6 separate regions of the Homo sapiens genome follow, and regions 2, 3, 4, 5 and 6 are each linked to region 1. The links are contacts of gene promoters, found by promoter capture Hi-C in human tissues and cell types (Jung and others, 2019). All regions are on one chromosome and are shown on one strand. Each heading gives the region's core, a stretch centred on a gene start or on the middle of the fragment in contact. The rest is flanking DNA. Distances are from core to core; before and after follow the strand shown. Region 1 holds the start of CPNE1 (copine 1). Region 2 overlaps MMP24-AS1-EDEM2 (MMP24-AS1-EDEM2 readthrough). Region 3 overlaps CNBD2 (cyclic nucleotide binding domain containing 2). Region 4 overlaps PHF20 (PHD finger protein 20). Region 5 has its middle 36 kb from the start of NORAD. Region 6 has its middle 3.2 kb from the start of NORAD.

Region 1 (3,029 bases), core at 209-2,708:
AGTCACAAGCCTAGCCTCTCCCTTCAACAAACCTTCAGTTGCCATCACACTTTTTTCCAGTGGGTTATACTGACTCTATTATTGAATAATATAAAACGGTCCCTACCAACTTCTTCAATTTATATTAGGTTATCTCTGAGAATCCTGGAGCCAAGGAGGGTTTTAGGGCCCAGAAATCTCTTAAAGTCTGCAATTCTCAGCATGACACCACGCAGATGAGTAAATGTTTAGCACTTAATACTGAGTAACCCTCACAAGAGCCCCTCAGATTTGTCACTATAAAGCACACGTTGGAGGCACACAAAAAGCCCGTACGTTTACAACCTAGCAGCTAAGCCTGCTGCACTGGCGTCCAACCCCGTCACTAACCTGTAGATCCTCAAAGTCCCTCCCACCACCCAATTCACGTGGCTGCAAACTAATGCAGCCAAGCTTCAGAGAAACTCAATTAACTCTCCATCAAAAGCACCCACCCTCCGCAGCCCACTGGATCTCGTCCTCCTGAAATGCCACAGGATCCTCTCCCGAGGGAGCCGTAAATGTGCTGCTCACAGCAGCCCCTTCCCTACTGGGGGACCAAAGGCCTGGCATCTTACTACAATTCTCAGAGCCTCAGGAGGCGTACTCACCCCACCCCCTCACCTCCTAGCTTCAGACGCCGGCTTCTCAAAACTGCTACACCCTCGAGTAAAGCCCCTCCCCAGCAATGGACCTCGGAGGCATTTCACTGCAAACCCCTCCACCTTCAGGCCACGAAGGCGGCCGGTTGTGACACTTCCTTTCTGAACTCACAGGAGTGTACCGACTACAGCTTCCTCCCCACAGGTGTGACCTGGGTCCCCTTTTGCTGGTAGGCCACAAAGGCCTCCTTTCCATTTCGGGTTGAAGGAGTGTCCTCACTACGATTATCTCCCCACCTCCAGGCACAGAGATGTAGTTATAACCTCTGCTTCACTGGGGGAGACAAGAAATCCTCCGTACTCGGGATGTAGGCGTGTTTTTACTGCAGTCCCCGTTAGCTCGCAGGCCGCTGAGCCAGCCAGCTCTGGCCTGCCCCCTCTCAGACCACGGGGGAGTCCTCGCTATGGCCTCGTCCCCACTTCGGTACGCAGGCTCATCCTCTTGCGTCCTCCTTGCATCCTCTCAGATCTCAGAGGCCTAAGTGGCATCCCACTCCCCCTGCAGCCCTGCCTCGACCCTTTGTGTGGGGCGCTAGTTGCCGCGGGCTCGAAGGCCTCCGAAGGCCCCGCCCCGGGCCACCAAGGGGCACCACGAGCCCCGCACAGCCCCACCCGTTCAGGGGCTGCGGGAGTCTTACCGGGGAAAGCTGCGCGGCACCAGAACCCAGACCCCGAATTACCCCCCGCGCGAGTGCCTCCGCCCCGCGGCCGACAGCCCCAGCCCGAACGGCTTCCCGGAGCCCAACGCAGCCACCACCTCCTTCGCCGCTTCACAAAATGGCCGTCGGCCCGCTCAGCGGCTCCGCGTTCCAGAAGGGGGAGGAACGGCGTGGTTGACGTCAAGGGGCCGCGCAAGCGCGCTGACGGTCTCGGGCGATCTCCCGGAAGTTACTGGGTTTTGTGCTAAGAGGGGGATATTCAGTCCCTGCTTGCGACTGTTGGCGCACAGGACCGACCTTGGGCTAGTGGCCCTGGCGGGTGGGCTGGGTATGAGTGTCTAGCTTGGCCCTTCACTGCAAGACTGTGCAAATTGCTTCACGTCTTCCAGTTTCCGCGGAAGGAGCGAATTGTGCTTACCTCTAAGTTTTTTGAGGATTAAATGGACCACAACGTGGTGGCTAGTTATTATATCCTGACAAAACAGCCAAAACCTGATTCTTTTTTCCCATTTAAGAGTTTATACAGGCCGGGGGCCGGGCGCGGTGGCTCACGCCTGTAATCCCAGCACTTTGGGAGGCCGAGGCGGGCGGATCACGAGGTCGGGAGATCGAGACCATCCTGGCTAACACGGTGAAACCCCGTCTCTTCTAAAAAATACAAAAAATTAGCCGGGCGTGGTGGCGGGCACCTGTAGTCCCAGCTACTCGGGAGGCTGAGGCAGGAGAATAGCGTGAACCTGGGAGGCGGAGCTTGCAGTGAGCCGAGATTGCGCCACTGCACTCCGGCCTGGGCGAAAGAGCAAGACTCCATCTCAAAAAAAAAAAAAAAAAAAAAAAAAGTTTATACAGGCCGAGCGCGGTGGCTCACGCCTATAATCCCAGCACTTTGGGAGTCCGAGAAGGGCGGATCATGAGGTCAGGAGTTCGAGACCGGTCTGGCCAACAAGGCAAAACCCAGCCTCTACTAAAAATACAAAAACTAGCTGGGTGTGGTGGCGGTGCTTGTGGTCCCAGCTACTTGGGAGGCTGAGGCAGGAGAATCGCTTGAACCCGGGAGGTGGAGGTTGCAGTGAGCCCAGATGGCGCCATTGCACTCCACCCTGGATGACAAAAGCGAAACTTCGTCTCAGAAAAAAAAACAAAAAAAGAGTTTTAATCTAGGGCAGGGCGCAGTGGCTCACGCCTGTAATCCCAGCATTTTGGGAAGCCGAGGCGGGCGGATTACCTGAGGTCAGGGGTTCAAGACCAGCATGGCCAACATGGCGAAACCTCGTCTCTACTAAAAATACAAACATTAGCTGGGCGTGCTGGCTGGCGCCTGTGGTCCCAGCTACCAGGGTGGCTGAGGCAGGAGAATCGCCTGAATCCGGGAGGTGGCGGTTACAGTGAGCCAAGATAACGCCATAGCACTCCAGCCTAGGCGACAGAGCAAGATTCCGTCTCAAAAAAAAAAAAAAAATTAAATCCATCGTGACCCCTCCACGGCTTCACTATAGTATTATTTTATTATAGAAAAAGCTATTCTCTGGCTGGGCGTGGTGGCTTACGCCTGTAATCCCAGCACTTTGGGAAGCCGAGGTGGGAGGATCACGAGGTCAGGGGATGGAGACCATCAGGAGAGCGAGACTACATCTCAAAAAAAAAAAAAAAGAAAGCTGTTCTCAAGCCGCTTTGGGCCTAGCCCCCCGAA
Region 2 (2,933 bases), core at 23-2,522, 410 kb before region 1:
AGCACACAATCATTATCAAGCCCAACAAAATTAACAATAATTTTTTAAAATCTAATACCCAGTTCGAGTTCACTTTCCCAAAGTACCTTGGAAATGTCTTTTACAGTTGTTTGCTTGAATCAGGATCCAAACAAGATCCACACACACATGGCTGACATGTCTCTTAAAGCCCTTTTTATTTAAAACACCCCCGTCCTACACACACGTTTCCCTCCATATATTTGTTGAAGAAACTGGGTCAGGTGTCCCGAGTATAATCATTTGGCGTGACTAGAATCAAGTTTACTTTTAATACGTCTCTCTTGCCCATAATTCCTGAATGTTGTTCATTAGATTTACAGGCTGACTAGATTCAAGTTCAATTTTTTTGGCAAGAATACTTCCTAGGTGGTGCTGGTACTTCCTATTCACCATATTAGCAAATACATATGATGCAGACTGTCCCACTTTTAGTGATGTTGAGGTCGAGCATTTGCTTCAGGTTGTGTCAGCCTGACCCAACCATTATACAATTCACCTGGAGAACTTAAAAAAAAAAAACAACAAAAAAGATTGCCTACGTCCCAAACCAAACCTCCTGAATCAGAATATCTTCCCCACCTCCTCCATGTGTTTAAAAGGCTCCCCGGGCCAGGTGCGATGGGAGCACTGGAGTAATCCCAGCACTTTGGGAGGCCGAGGGGGGGCAGATCACCTGAGGTCAGGAGTTCGAGACCAGCCTGGCCAACATGGCAAAACCCCGTCTCTACTAAAAATACAAAAATTAGCCGGGTGTGGTGGCACATGCCTGTAATCCCAGCTACTCGGGAGGCTGAGGCAGGAGAATGGCTTGAACCCGGGAGGCGGAGGTTCAAGTGAGCCGAGATTGCACCACTACACTCCAACCTGGGTGACAGAGTGAGATCCTGTCTCAAAAATAAAAAAGAAAGAAAATACTTTTTAAAAAAATAGGAAATTCACCCCTTTGGAAAGTGGCAGAGCCAGGTGTGACCCCAGGACTCCGCATTTTTAAGTCACCACAGGTGGTTCTGCTGCAGGTGGTCCGAGTATTTCCCTTGGTAAAATACGGTGCTTTTGGCGCTGTTCCATTCCGGGGGCTGTCACCTGGTTCTTCAACACAAAGCTTGTCCTCAAGGAACCCACAGTCCTGGGGCAGCGAGCATGTGCACTAGTGGCAATCACGTGGGGAGGAAGCGGTCAGTGCCATAAAGGCAGTTCAGGGAAACTGCTGGGAGGGCACAGCAGAAGGAGCACTCACTGCCAGCTGGGAAGTCATGGAAGGCTTCCTGGAAGACAGGCATGGAGCTGAACTTTGAAGGAATCAGGTTATTCCAGGGGAAGGGGCAGCACTGGCAGAAGAACAGAGGCAAAGGGAAATGCTATCACCTTTCGTGGGGCTGGGGGAGTTAATGAGATGGGAACGACCAAATATGGAGATCCTAAAAGAAAGAAATGAGGCAGAGACAAGGTCCACTTGAGTAGCCGAGTAGACTGCTGGGGACTTGCTCGGAGGCCCAGGGACTTACAGGAACACACCCTATCAGGGGTGCTGGTGCTCACACACAGCTCAACAGGACCCTGCTAATGAAGGGTAATACTTCTGTACCAGGAGCTGGTATCAGCGCATTACACACCCTGCCCCATGAATCTTCACCCACATCCCTATGACGAAGGTGCCATTGTTCCTTCTATCTTCCAGAGGAAGAATTTAAAATGTCACACTGCTAGGACATGGCAGAGCTGGGATTCAAAACCAGGCAGTCTGGCTCCCAGAGACTGCATTCCTGACCACTCTGCTTCCCTGCCGCTCACCCTCTTGAAGAGTGAAGACCCTAGCAGCCTCCTGCCCATGGAGCATGGGGTCCTCATAGCAGGCCTCTCCTCCTCATACCTCTGCCTTCACCTCACAAGCTCAGGGAGTCCTCCTGCCCCTGCCCTGCTCCCTCTGTCTCCCCCTCAGGGCTCTCTTGGGTTTCTGTGCAGCAGGATACTGGCTCCCTCGCTCTTCCCTTCCTTTTGGTTCCTGGACCCAAACCACAGGCCTCTTTCCTTTAAGGGGTCACTCCTGTTCTCTGCAGACCCAGAACAGGGGTTAAAAGAGCAAGAGACAAGGCTGCGGACAAAGGTTTTGAGTCTCCCACAGTGCTCAGAGCCGTGTTCCCTGGTTCCCAGCTGAGCTCCCTGTGGACAGCCCCTGGGGAAGAGCCTGCTCAGGAGACAGAGGCCCTGAACAGCTTGTCCCAGGTCATAGAATAGCCCAGGAGCACAGCCAGGACTGGACCCCAGGAAGCAGAGCTGCCTTCCGCTGGCTCTACCAGTTTGTTTGGGATGGAGCTCAGCGATGAGCTCACCCTTCCCTGCTGCCAGAGGGGCCAGGACCTGAGTAAGGAGCTGGGGGCGGCCTGGCCCTCTCATGCCAGCAGAAGGCCAGCCCCAGGCTTTTGGCCAACCTTGCACTGATCTTGCCCATCCCCCTTCCTTTCCGTTGCTCAAAGGTGGCTTCACAGAAGACACTGGCGGTGTCAGTAGTGTGGGAGGCATGTACTGCCCGTGGCCTGGGTCTGCCCCATGGGGTTCTTCTCTCTTCCAGAGACCTAAGCCAGGAAGGCCAAACAATCCCCACCCCCATGTGTCCCTAGGCCAGTGACGCTGGGGCCAGAGTGGGCAGTAGGACTCTAGACCACCTCCTAGGTTCCTGGCAGCCTCCCTGGACTTACAGGTGGCAGGAATGGGCCGAGCCATGCCTTAGGGCCAGAAGATAAGAGGCAGGGCTCAAGGGGCTACAAATGCCAGAGGTCAAGGCAAGCAAGGGTCTGACACTGGGCAGACAGGAGTCAGGACTGGTGATCCACAGCCTACCTGACTCCCTACCCCCTGCATTTTCTCCCCAAAGCTGCGGTTACTTCATCCCCCTAAGTTCAGGCCTCCTTGTC
Region 3 (2,962 bases), core at 203-2,702, 320 kb after region 1:
TTATGATAAGACCATTATCTGTGTCTCATTCTAGGCATACTCATCTGCATTTTACAGACAAGAGAAACCAAGGATCAGAGAGGGGATATCCATTGCTCAGTGTCACACAGCTAAGAGCAGAACCAGGATTTGGATCCTGGGCTAACGCTAAAGCCAGTCCTCCTAATCATTTAGTGACTCTACTAACCCATTCATTGCTTTCAGCATGTGTTCACTCATTTATTCCACTATGTTCAATGAACATTCACTGTGCCCAAGCACACGCAGCAGTGACCCAGACTGGCAAAGACTCTGCTCTCAGGAAGCTTCAGTTCAACCGAGGCAGGCAACGGGATAGGTGTTAGTGAAAGGCTCCAGCTTGACTGGCAGGGCTGGGCTGTCCTGAGGGCCCTTCTGGTCCAAGTCTGTGCTCTTATATCCCAAAGCAAAGAGCACAACCAGTCCAGAGCTCCTCTCAGCTTGGACCTGCCCCCATGTCACTACCCAATCAACTAGCAGTGGTCTTTTCCCAGGTTTGGTCGCAGGCGTGTGATCATCAAGAAGGGGCAGAAGGGCAACAGCTTTTATTTCATCTACCTGGGCACAGTTGCAATAACCAAGGACGAGGATGGCAGCAGTGCCTTCCTAGATCCCCACCCGAAATTGCTGCACAAGGGTAGCTGTTTTGGGGTAAGCCCAGGGGAAGGACCCAGTTTCCTGGGGTGGAGTGGGTGGAGGTGACAGGACTTCTGCTAGAACCTCTCAGCCAGGCCCAGTCCTGCCTAGTACTCTGTACAAGTCAGTGTCCCGTGTGGGCCCCTTACCTGTCAAATGCTAATTGAGTTGGACTAAGATCAGCCTCTTCATCTGTGATGTTTAAGAAGTATGTTCCTGATACAGCCCTTTAGAGATGAAGTGACTCCATAGTGAGGCCTCTCCAGCTTCCTCCCCTCTGGCCTGTTCAGGTCTGTTGCCTCTTTTTCCATAAGCAGCAGATTAAGAAGAAGGGGAGTGGGCCCCAGTGGGAGAATGTGCAGGAGAATAGAGGAGGCTAGGGAACACACAGTCTGGTGAGGAGAGAATTCAGGGGGAAGATGGAGGCACGGAAGATGTGTGTAAGGCTGAGGACAGGAAGTGGAGGTGGCCTCACACTTGCCCTTGCCCTGTCCACCCAACAGGAAATGGACGTTCTGCATGCTTCAGTGAGGAGGTCCACCATCGTCTGTATGGAAGAAACGGAGTTCCTGGTTGTTGACCGGGAGGACTTCTTTGCTAATAAGCTGGACCAGGAAGTTCAGAAGGATGCTCAGTATCGGTTTGAATTTTTTAGGTAACTCTGCCTTCATTCAACATTTTTTTCCCCTTGTGTGTTTATTAGCTGCCTGACTTTGTCTGTCCTAGGCCTGGTGGGAAACATACTGGTTGCTGTTCTCTCTGTCTGGGATGCTCTGAAGTCCCACCTCGTACCCACCTTCTCTCTCTGCAGACTCCTACTATCCCTTCGGGTCTCAGCTCAAATATCCCTTCTTTATTGAAAGTAATAGTAAGAATAGCTAACACGGGACTGGGCACAGTGGCTCACTCCTGTAATCCCAGCACTTTAGGAGGCCAAGGTGGGAGGATCCCTGAACCCAGGAGTTCAAGACCAGCCTGGACAACATAGTGAAATCCTGTCCCTACAAAATAAAAAATTAAAAAAAATTAGCTGGGTGTGGTGGCACATACCTATAGTTTCAGCTACTTGGGAGGCTGAGGTGGGAGGATCACTTGGGCCCAGGAGTTCGAGGCTGTGGTGAGTTGTGATCGCATCACTGCACTCCAGCCTGGGCAACAGAGTGTGGTCCTAGTAGCTAGGACTGTAGGTGTGCTGCCACATCCAGCTAATTGTTCTATTATTTGTAGAGATGGAATCTTGTTATGTTGCCCAGGCTGGTCTTGAACTCCTGGTCTCAAGTGATCCTGCCACTTTGGCCTCCTAAAGTGCTGGGATTACAGACATGAGCCCCCATGCTCAGCCCAAACTATAAAACTATAATTCCTTTTTTTTTTTTTTTTGAGAGAGGGTCTTGCTCTGTTGCCCAGGCTGGAGTGCAGTGGCATGATCTCATCTCACTGCAACCTCCGCCTCCTGGGTTCAAGCAATTCTCCTGCCTCAGCCTCCCACATAGCTGGAATTACAGTCATACACCATCACTCCCAGCTAACTTTTTTGTATTTTTAGTAGAGATGGGGTTTCACTATGTTGGCCAGGGTGGTGTTGAACTCCTGGCCTCAAGTGATCTGACTACCTTGGCCTCCCAAAGTGCTGGGATTACAGGCGTAAGCCACTGCGCCTGGCCCAAACTATAATTCTTGATTGCATGGTAATTTCTTTACAGTTTATATACCCCCTCAGACAGTAAGCAGTATGGTGACAGAGACCAGATAGATCTGTCTTTGTCACTACTATAATCCTTATGTTGTCACACTGCCAGACACATGCAGGTGCTCAACAAATAAATATTGAGTAAGGTGAATAACAGGATATAAATAATTACAATCACATGTGAGTCAGAAAGTAAGCACCGTAACTGGGTATCATATTTAAAAGCAGAACTCATACATAGCAAAAGATTTTTGGTTTTTGAATACTTATGTGCATGAAAGGCCACGTAAGGATATGCAAGTGAAATCTCATTTAATTGCTCTTCAGTTATTTGCCTTTATGTAAAAGGAATAAAAATCCAATGAAGTATCTGCACTGGCCCTGAAAATTTGGGCTGTAGGGCTGCACAGCTACAGAGAAGTGTGATGGCCGAGGGGTCTGGTTCCTGTGGCTGGGGCTGAGAGAGGTAGCTTCATCCCCTGGAAAAGTGGGGATTTAGTCCTAAAGGGAGGAGCTGTTTTTTTTTTCCATACTGTGGAAAAATAGGTCTGGCTCCAATCTCAGCTCTTAGGTTACCAGCGATGTGACCCTAGATAGGTCACGCCATTTCTCTGTGTT
Region 4 (3,115 bases), core at 611-3,110, 260 kb after region 1:
TCAGCATCGGCTAGACTCCAGCTCCTCCTCGCCTCTGTTGCTATCCTGCCTTGTGGCCAGCTATCCTGAACGTAGCAATAAGAGCACACGTGTGAAGGGGCCCACCTAGTGGAAGGCCTGGCCTTGAGCTAGAACTTTTCCTTTTCTTTAATTATGGTTTAAAAAAAATGCATGAGGCCGGGCGCAGTGGCTCACGCCTGTAATCCCAGCACTTTGGGAGGCCAAGGCGGGTGAATCAACTGAGATCAGGAGTTCGAGACCAGCCTGGCCAATGTGGTGAAACTCCATCTCTACTAAAAATACAAAAATTAGCTGGGCATGGTGACAGGCGCCTGTAACCCCAGCTACTTGGGAGGCTGAGGCAGGAGAATCACTTGAACCCAGGTGGCGGAGGTTGCAGTGAGCCGAGATCATGCCAGTGCACTCCAGCCAGGGCAACAAGAGCGAAACTTCGTCTCAAAAAAAAAAAAAAAAAAAAAAAAGCATGAGATCTACCCTCAACAATACAGTATTGTTGTTAATAACTATAAGCACAATGTCGTACAGCAGATCTCCAGAACTTTCATCCTGCCTGATTGAAGCTGTGTAGAAAAATGTAGAAACTTCACAAGTTTGAGTGTCATCCTTGTGTAGGGGCCATGCTAATCTTCTCTGTATTGTTCCTGTTTTAGTGTATGTGCTGCCGAAGTGGCACCTTTTCCTTTTCTTGAGGACTCATGAGGATGGGCGTGTGGGCTCTGTCTTTGGCTTTTGGGGGCTATTGGAGGGTTAGAAACTTGCCTTTGCCCCCTGTGGCAACATCTGCCCTTCATCACATCACTGCCATCCTGAAGGGAGAAATGCCCTTGAGGGGAAGGAGGAAGGCATGGTTGGGTAGAGCCTGTTGCCACCCTGAGCAGTGACTTAATTCCTTAGCAGGATCAGTTAGTTCCATGGCTATAGGGGTCACCTGTGGCTCTTGATTGCTCCTTTCTAGAAGGGGTGGATTGTAAATATGCAGTTCATTGTCTTGGTTTCCATGGGATGGTGACATTGTCTCCCATTACCACTTGTAAGGTTCTCCCTCAGCTCTAGTCCCCTGATTCCTTTAGAGCTAGACAGTGCTTGAGAGCCTCTGCTTCCGTTACTCCTTTCTGTCCGATAAGGTGGGCCTGGTTCTCCTACTCCCAGTTTTGCTTATGAGGAAGAAATTGATCCTTGAGGATACAGTTGACTTTCCTCATAAAGCAAATTGGAATTAGAACTGGTTTGCAGAGCCAGATCTCTTGATTTTGTTGGTTGTCTAGGGAGGGACTGGCCACCAGTTCATTTAACAGCATGCAGGTCCCCTCTGGGCCTGAAGGCCTCTGTTGTGACACTGTCTCCTTGTACTAGAAGCATCTGCCTCCACTTGTCCCTTTATCCCAAGGAAAGAATAGTCAGAAGATTTGACAGGTGAACAAACACAAGTCCAGAAGGGACATGACTGGCCCAAGATCACGCCACCAGCTAATGCCAGACAGGCGATGAGAACCAGTTGTCTCATACCTTTGCCTTGTAAAACAGGTAGTGCAGCTCTGAATCCTGCTGCTCTAGGCACTGCCTGCAGCAGCTGCCTCTGGGGTTCCCCCATATATTCCTGAAGGCTCCTTAGCATACCTTTTAAAAATCTTTTTTTCCCTACTGTGTCTTTCTCTCTACTTTTCCTTCTTTAGAAGTCACACACACCATCTTCATCAAATCCTGTGCACTTACTGAACTTCTACGACTTTAATCGCCAATACTGTGAATAGACTCTTCCTTGAACTGAGCACAGCATGTCTGCCACAGGGTCTACCTTTATAGACTGACTCTGCAGAGGGCTGGACCAAAAGTTTAACAGATTCGTTTTTTAAAGGCTACTTAAAAATAGTTTTAACAGAATCAAGGTGTATCCCCACCATGTGTATTAGTAAAGCCAGAAGTAGCTCAAAGACCTTAATAGGAATCACCTGGGTGTTTCAAGGTTTTTATAGATATTGACAGTCGAACAACAGTCTGGTAGAAAGCTTTTCCCTGGGACTTTGGAGCAGGTCATGTTGATAAGTCACATGTGCTTTTGTTTTCAGTCCTTCCTAAGGAGCCCTGTAACAAATAGGATGGCTGAAGCCATCCAGTTCCTATGTTGTTCTAATGAATGGATAACAGGTACAGAGAAGGGAAGGGGCCTGATCATCTGTTGAGTTAGGTGGTAGAAGGTACATTTGCAGGGGGACTTGAGGCATCTTTCCATTCATTTGATAAGTCCATTCAAGATGCCTTTTGCCAGGCACTGGGGATACAACCATGAACAAGATAGTTCCTACTCTTTCGGCTCTTAATTGGGTTGGGAGCCAGAAACAGAAGTTAAAACAAGTTAAGTAAACAAGACTGTGTAAGGTAGTGATGAATGCCGTGACGGGAAAATTGATAAGACGACTTGAGGCACTGATGATGCTCTCAACTTTGGGAAGTAGCAGAAGGCCCCACTCCTGGGCAACATGGCAAAACCCCATCAAAAAAAAATGAAAGAAAGAAAGAAAAATTAGCCAGGCATGGTGGTGCACACCTGTAGTCCCAGATACTCGGGAGGCTGAGGTGGGAGGATCACCTGAGCCCAGGGAGGCTGAGGCTGCAGTGAGCCATGATCATGCCACTGCACTGTAGCCTGGGCAACAGAGTGAGACCCTGCCAACAAAGCAGGAAAAAAATAAAAGCCTTTCTGAGGAGGTGGTAAGGAGCCAACCCTGCAAAGGCTTAGGGAATAGTGCTGCAGACAGAAGGGATGCGCAAGTGAAGGTCTTGAGGCTGGAAAGAGTTTGATGTGTTTCAGAAACTGAAATGAGGCCAGTGTAAAGGTATGGAGGGGAAGACAGGAAGGAACTGGGTCCTGTGGGCCTCAGTAAGCCAGAGTTAGAGAGTTGGGGCTTTGGGTATTCTCCTTTGAGCAGTAGGAGGCAGTGGAAGGTTTTAAGTAGGGGAGAGAATATTATGATATAAATTTGGAGATAATCTAGGTGCCCAGCTCACCTCTGGCCAGTTCCAGGAAATGAGGAAGTACATGCCTTATTCACTACCTTATCCCCACTACCTAATAGAGAGCCCAGCATATGGTAGG
Region 5 (3,235 bases), core at 390-2,889, 420 kb after region 1:
TGAACTCCATGGCTCCCTACTGCCTGTTAGATGGAATCCAAATATATTTAAGCTTTAGGGCATTCCTGCAGCCTGGAGGGCCCTTCTACCTAATTTGTGTGCTGAATTCACTCTTTAAGGCTCCACTCCAATCTCAACTCCTTGGACTCACTCTTATTTGTCATGTGTTCCCTCTGCTCTAAGGCCCTTGTACAGTGTTCCCAAATGTTTGCAGTATTTTGGGATGAAAGGAGTGAGGGGCACAAGCTGCAAGTGGACTGTGCTCCTGAGGATGAGAGCACTTTGCCTACTTTTCCACCCCTCTAAACTAAGCTTAGTATCTTGTGCTTGGGTGACTCTGACAGGTCAGCCCCGCATGACTCACTCTGTAAGCCTTCAGCGCGGGTCACCACAAGGTCCTGGTTTAGGGTGTGTGAGTTGGTGGGTGGGGAGGGGAGGTGGAAATTAACTTTCACCTTTCAGGAACCTTTCCCTTCCCCAGGAGAAGGACAAGTGTAAGTCCTTCCCTTAAGTAGTCTGGGCAAGTCTCTACTCATCACTCCTAGGAGGACTGGGGAGGTCCTGGAAGGTGCAGAGGAGGAAGCTCTGAGAAGTAGAAACAGCACCAAACTGCACCATAGAAGACTTTACTAATTTGTCCAAATGACAGAATTTACCTTCTCTGAGCTTCAGTTTCCCCAGCTATAAAGTGGCAACAACACTGATCTTGCCCTCCTCCCTAAGTTGCTACAAAAAGACATAGTAAAAATCTTTAGGGTGCCGGGCAGGGTGGCTCACGGCTGTAATCTCAGCACTTTGGGAGGCTGAGGCAGGCAGATCACCTGAGGTTAAGAGTTCGAGACCAGCCTGGCCAACATGGTGAAACCCCATCTCTACTAAAAATACAAAAATTAGCCAGGCATGGTGGCAGGCACCTGTAATCCCAGCTACTTGGGAGGCTGAGACATGAGAATCGCTTGAACCCGGGAGATGGAGGTTGCAGTGGGCAAAGATAGTGCTACTGCACTCCAGCCAGGGTGATGGAGCAAGACTCCATTTCAAAAAAAAAAAAAAAAAAAAATCTTTAAGAATGCAGCCTTGAAATCGCACAGACTTGTACTGGAATCCTTCTCATAAGCTATGTGACTGAGAAAGTTATAGATCTTCATAAGCCATTACAGCTACCTCCCAGGGTGAGAAAATTATGTAAATAAATTTCCTAACATATACTAAGTACTCAATAATGTTGGCTATTCCTATATGAGATGATGAAACTTATTATTATATAGGGAAAGTCCCAGACGAGGACCCATTTTTGAACATTGAAAGGAGGGAGTACAGAGGCTAACTTTTCTTAGAATTGGTTGCTTCTTTTAGCCAAGTATAAGGTGTGGCTCAAAGGAATGAGGAAGCAGTTAATGAGGTGACAGGGCACAGAATACTGTTTGTCTTCACAGATCTTGGGGGAGGGATACAGTGGTTAGCTGACCTTCCCAAAAGATCAGAGATCCTGGTGTCTTGTCCACCCACAGATGCAGGCCACTTGACTCTGTCCTGTCCCCTCCTACCAGTCCAGTCACCACGTTCTGGTGAGGCTGCCTTTGAAATAATAATAACAATGGTACTTGTACTAATGATATTATTACTTTGAAGTGTATGAAGGCTTTCTAATACATCATCCCAGTTATCCTTCATTATCTCTCTCCCATTCACAGAATCCAGAGTTAGGAAGGATATTGCAGATCATTCTGCATTTTACAGATGGGATCTCTGAAATTTGAATAAAGGAAGGGATCTACTCAAGGGCTGGGATTTACCTGAGACTACACAATAAGTTAATGGCAGGGGCAGGACTAGAACCTGCAGCTCCTGACTACCAGCCTAGTGCCAGTGCCTCTTTCAAGTCACACTTGCATTGGCTTTCCATTCCCATGGCCTCCCAGTCTATTCTTTTTTTTTGTTTTTTGTTTTGTTTTGTTTTGTTTTGAGACGAGTTTCGCTCTGTCGCCCAGGCTGGAGTGCAGTGGTGTGATCTCGGCTCACTGCAACCTCCGCCTCCCGGGTTCAAGCAATTCTCTGCCTCAGCCTCCCAAGTGGCTGGGATTACAGGCACCCACCACCATGCCTGGCTAATTTTTTTGTATTTTTAGTAGAGACAGGGTTTCACCATGTTTGCCAGGCTGGTCTTGAACTCCTGACCTTGTGATCCACCCTCCTCGGCCTCCCAAAGTGCTGGGATTACAGGCATGAATCACCGTGCCCAGCCCCAGTCTATTCTTTTATCTCCTGGACCACTGCAGTGGTTTCCTACTGGTCCTGCCTGCCTCTGATCCCTCCCCACCCATTTCTTCTACACATACAGTCACATAATTGTCTGGAAGCACAGCTTTGATCTTGTCTTTCCCTTCCTAATAGAACTTGCCCATTTTTTCAACTTGAGAGGTCACCAGGATCCTAGTTCAATTTCCCAATGAAGACTTAATCTTTCCTTGAATACATATATTGACAAGGAGTTCATCACTCCCAAGGTGGTCCATTCCATTCTTGGGTAGCTCCAACTGTTAGGGAGTTCTTTATAGTGAGCTGAAATTGTCTTCCTGGATATCCCCCCACTGGAGGTGATGTGATGGAATTCTCTTTTTTTTTTTTTTTTTTTTGAGACCGAGTCTCACTGTGTTGCCCAGGCTAGAGTGCAGTGGTACAATCTCAGCTCACTGCAACCTCCGCCTCCCAGGTTCAGCAATTCTCATGTCTCAGCCTCCCGAGTAGCTGGGACTTACAGGCATGAGCCACCAAGCCTGGCTAATTTTTTTGTGTTGTTAGTAGAGACAGGGTTTCACCATGCTGGCCAGGTTGGTCTCAAACTCCTGGCCTCAGGTGATCTGCCTGCCTCGGCCTCCCAAAGTGCTGGGATTACAGGTGTGAGCCATCACACTTGGCCCCTTTTTGTTTTTTTTTTTTTTTAGACAGAGTTTCACTCTTGCTGCCTAGGCTGGAGCGCAGTGGTGTGATCTTGGCTCACTGCAACCTCCACCTCCCAGATTCAAGACATTCAGCCTCCCAAATAGTTGGGATTACAGGCATGTGCCACCACGCCCAGCTAATTTTGTATTTTAGTAGAGACGGGGTTTCACCATGTTGGCGAGGCTGGTCTCGAACTCCTGACCTCAGGTGATCCACCTGCTCGACCTTCCAAAGTGTTGGGATTACAGGCGTGAGCCACAGCACCTGGCCAATGGAATTCTTTCGTATCCAT
Region 6 (2,820 bases), core at 42-2,541, 390 kb after region 1:
CTGAGTTCCTTTGTTTGTATTTGTATTTTTATTTTTTTTTTTTGAGGCAGAGTCTTGCTCTGTTGCCCAGGCTGTAGTGAAATGGTGCGATCTTGACTCACTGCAACCTCCACCTCCTGGGTTCAAGTGATTCTCCTGCCTCAGCCTCCCAAGTAGCTGGGATTACAGGCACTCGCCACCAGGCCAGGCTAATTTTTTGTATTTTTAGTAGAGACGGGGTTTTACCCTGTTGGTCAGGCTGGTCTCGAACTTGTGACCTCAGGTGATCCACCCACCTTCGCCTCCCAAAGTGCTGGGATTACAGGTGTGAGCCACCGCACCTGGCCTGCATTTTTATTATTTTTAAAATTATTTATTTATTTATTTATGTTTGAGACAGGGTCTCGCTCTGTCATCCAGGCTGGAGTGCAGTGGTGCCATCTCGGCCCACTGCAACCTCCAACTCCTGAGTTCAAATGATTCTCCTGCTTCAGCCTCCCAAGTAGCTGGGACTACAAACGTGTGCCACCATGCCCAGCTAATTTTTGTATTTTTAGTATAGATGAGATTTCACTGTGTTGGCCAGGCTGGTTTCAAACTCCTGACCTCAGGTGATCCACCTGCCTCGGCTTCCCAAAGTGCTGGGAGTACAAGCATGAGCTACCACCACTGGCCCTGAGTTCCTTTGGATACAATTCTGGAAATGTAAAGAAAGATCAAAGGATTAAGACTCTTGATGCAGACTCAGACATGATTCCCAGGAGGAAAATCCTGCAGTCAGAAAGGCCTTGCTGGTGGAAGGTGGACAGGAGAGGTGGCGAGAAGTCCAGGGGCTCTAGTCCACAATGAGATGACAAGGCCCTGAGCCAGGAGAGTTGCACAGAAGTAGAAAACCGGTGAAGTGAGTGTTTCTAGCATTTCAAGAGAAGAAGCCAGTGGGCTGAATACCTGAGAGAAGAGGGAGGAGGGGAAGGAAGAGCCATGGATTATACAAGTTTCAAACACTAGCGCTAATGGGTAGTTTGGTAGTTGATACATTAGCCAAGACAAGGAGTAGGAGAGGCTCCTGGTCCCCTTTCTGAGCTTCCCACCGCCTAAGCAGCCAAACATGTGGGTATTCCTGGAACCTAAAGATGAGGATGATGAAAAACATGTATACATCCTGCTTTCTTTTTCTTTTTCTTTTATTATTTTTTTTCCGAGACGCAGTCTTGCTGTGTCTGGGCTGGAGTGAAGTGGTGTGATCTCGGCTCCCTGCAACCCTCGCCTCCCAGGTTCAAGCGATTCTCCTGACTCAGCCTCCTGAGTAACTGGGATTACAGGCACGTGCCACCACATCCCTTTAATTTTTGTATTCTTAGTAGGGATGGGATTTCACCATGTTGGCCAGGCTGGTCTGGAACTCTTGACCTCATGATCCGCCCACCTCGGCCTCCCAAAGTGCTGAGATTACAGGCATGAGCCACTGTGCTCAGCATACATTCTGCTTTCTACCTGATAGCTCTACTTGAATGTTCCAACAGTATCTGAAACTCCTCTTGTGCAAAACAAAACTCTTGGTATCTCCCCAGAGCCTGCTCTTCCCTATCAGTAAATGGCAGTATCATCCACCTGTTTCCCAAGTAATATGGTTTGGCTGTGTCTCCATCCAAATCTCATCTTGAATTGTACTCCTATAATTCCCACACGTTATGGGAGGGACCCAGTGGGAGATAATTTGAGTCATGGGGTGGTTCCCTCATACTGTTCTCATGGTAGTGAATAAGTCTCATGAGATCTGATGGTTTTATCAGGGGTTTCCGCTTTTGCATCTTTCTCATTTTCTCTTGCTGCTGCTGTGTAAGAAGTGCCTTTCACCTCCTGCCATGATTCTGAGACCTCCCCAGCCATGTGGAAATGTAAGTCCGATTAAACCTCTTTTTCTTCCCAGACTCGGGTATGTCTTTATCAGCAGCGTGAAAATGGACTAATACACCAAGTAATTCTCGATCTCCCTTGATTCCCCATTCTCTCACTTCCCACACGGCAACCATCCCCAGTCCTATCTGCCTCCTAAATATATTTCAAATACAGCCAATTCCCTGTGCTGTCCATTATAGTAGCCACTAGCTACGTGTGCCTATTTAAATTGTAATTCATTAGAATGACATGAAATTAAAAATTCAGTTCTTCAGCCACACCACCCTCATTCCAAGTGCTCAAGAGTCACAGGGAACTAGGAGCCAGTGGCTACCATATGAGCACAGGTGGAGAATGTTCCCACCATCCCAGGAAGTCCCATTGACAGTGCTGATCTGTATCCAAATCCAAGCTAGCAACGTCTTTCATTTGGATGACTCTAATAGCCCCTTAATTGTTGTTGTTCTGGTTTCTACTGCTCTCCCTTTCTAATCCGTTCTCCCTACAGAAGCCAGAATGAACTTTTAATCAAAAATCAGATCTTATAACTCTCCTGTTTAAGCCTTCAGTGGCTTTTCATCACACTTAGAACAAAATCAAACTTATTTCCACGACCACTGCCTTCCATGACCTGCCCTTTGACCTGCCCTTTGTGTCCCTCGTGCCTCATCTTTGTTTTTTTTTTTGTTTTTGTTTGAGAAGGATCTCAATCTGTCACCCAGGCTGCAGTGCAGTGCAGTGCAGTGGTGTGATTATGGCTCACTACAGCCTCGTCCTCCCTGGGCTCAGGTGATCCTCCTGCCTCAGACTCCCAAGTAGCTAGGACTATAGACACACGCCACCATGCCCAGCTAATTTTTATATTTCTTGTAGAGAGAGGGTTTTGCCATGTTGCCCAGGCTGGTCTTGAACTGAGCTCAAGCCATCCACCCTCCCCAGCCC

What was found. The method cuts DNA at HindIII sites, captures the fragments that hold promoters and counts their contacts. A contact is called where the count stands out against the background at its distance.
Region 2: a fragment that was not itself captured here is called in contact with the fragment with the promoter of CPNE1 in region 1 in 1 of the 25 tissues and cell types used here (dorsolateral prefrontal cortex).
Region 3: a fragment that was not itself captured here is called in contact with the fragment with the promoter of CPNE1 in region 1 in 1 of the 25 tissues and cell types used here (mesenchymal stem cells).
Region 4: a fragment that was not itself captured here is called in contact with the fragment with the promoter of CPNE1 in region 1 in 2 of the 25 tissues and cell types used here (IMR-90 fibroblasts and lymphoblastoid cells).
Region 5: a fragment that was not itself captured here is called in contact with the fragment with the promoter of CPNE1 in region 1 in 2 of the 25 tissues and cell types used here (dorsolateral prefrontal cortex and lymphoblastoid cells).
Region 6: a fragment that was not itself captured here is called in contact with the fragment with the promoter of CPNE1 in region 1 in 1 of the 25 tissues and cell types used here (dorsolateral prefrontal cortex).

The regions. Positions count from the first base shown.
Region 1 is chr20:35,663,442-35,666,470 of GRCh38, forward strand. CPNE1 (copine 1) reads right to left here and starts at 1,459. Exons shown (of 16, transcript NM_152925.3): 1 at 1,319-1,459. It overlaps RBM12 (RNA binding motif protein 12), which reads right to left and starts at 1,459. Exons shown (of 3, transcript NM_006047.6): 1 at 1,319-1,459. RefSeq lists enhancers at 168-287, 282-787, 628-677, 998-1,107, 1,292-1,796 and 1 more and a silencer at 1,026-1,320. The HindIII fragment of the contact is 6,796 bases long and covers 1-3,029 here.
Region 2 is chr20:35,258,269-35,261,201 of GRCh38, forward strand. The region is part of intron 2 of MMP24-AS1-EDEM2 (MMP24-AS1-EDEM2 readthrough); the gene reads right to left. The region is part of intron 4 of MMP24 (matrix metallopeptidase 24); the gene reads left to right. Among named protein-coding and RNA genes, the nearest start is that of MMP24-AS1-EDEM2, 18 kb to the right of the region's middle. The HindIII fragment of the contact is 5,720 bases long and covers 1-2,933 here.
Region 3 is chr20:35,983,470-35,986,431 of GRCh38, forward strand. It overlaps CNBD2 (cyclic nucleotide binding domain containing 2), which reads left to right. Exons shown (of 12, transcript NM_001365709.1): 5 at 513-669; 6 at 1,158-1,309. Among named protein-coding and RNA genes, the nearest start is that of CNBD2, 16 kb to the left of the region's middle. The HindIII fragment of the contact is 7,254 bases long and covers 1-2,962 here.
Region 4 is chr20:35,927,982-35,931,096 of GRCh38, forward strand. The region is part of intron 14 of PHF20 (PHD finger protein 20); the gene reads left to right. It also overlaps the pseudogene RNU6-937P. Among named protein-coding and RNA genes, the nearest start is that of SCAND1, 25 kb to the right of the region's middle. The HindIII fragment of the contact is 6,965 bases long and covers 1-3,115 here.
Region 5 is chr20:36,085,567-36,088,801 of GRCh38, forward strand. No RefSeq gene overlaps it. Among named protein-coding and RNA genes, the nearest start is that of NORAD, 36 kb to the left of the region's middle. The HindIII fragment of the contact is 7,451 bases long and covers 1-3,235 here.
Region 6 is chr20:36,052,750-36,055,569 of GRCh38, forward strand. No RefSeq gene overlaps it. Among named protein-coding and RNA genes, the nearest start is that of NORAD, 3.2 kb to the left of the region's middle. RefSeq lists an enhancer at 1,454-1,633. The HindIII fragment of the contact is 6,332 bases long and covers 1-2,820 here.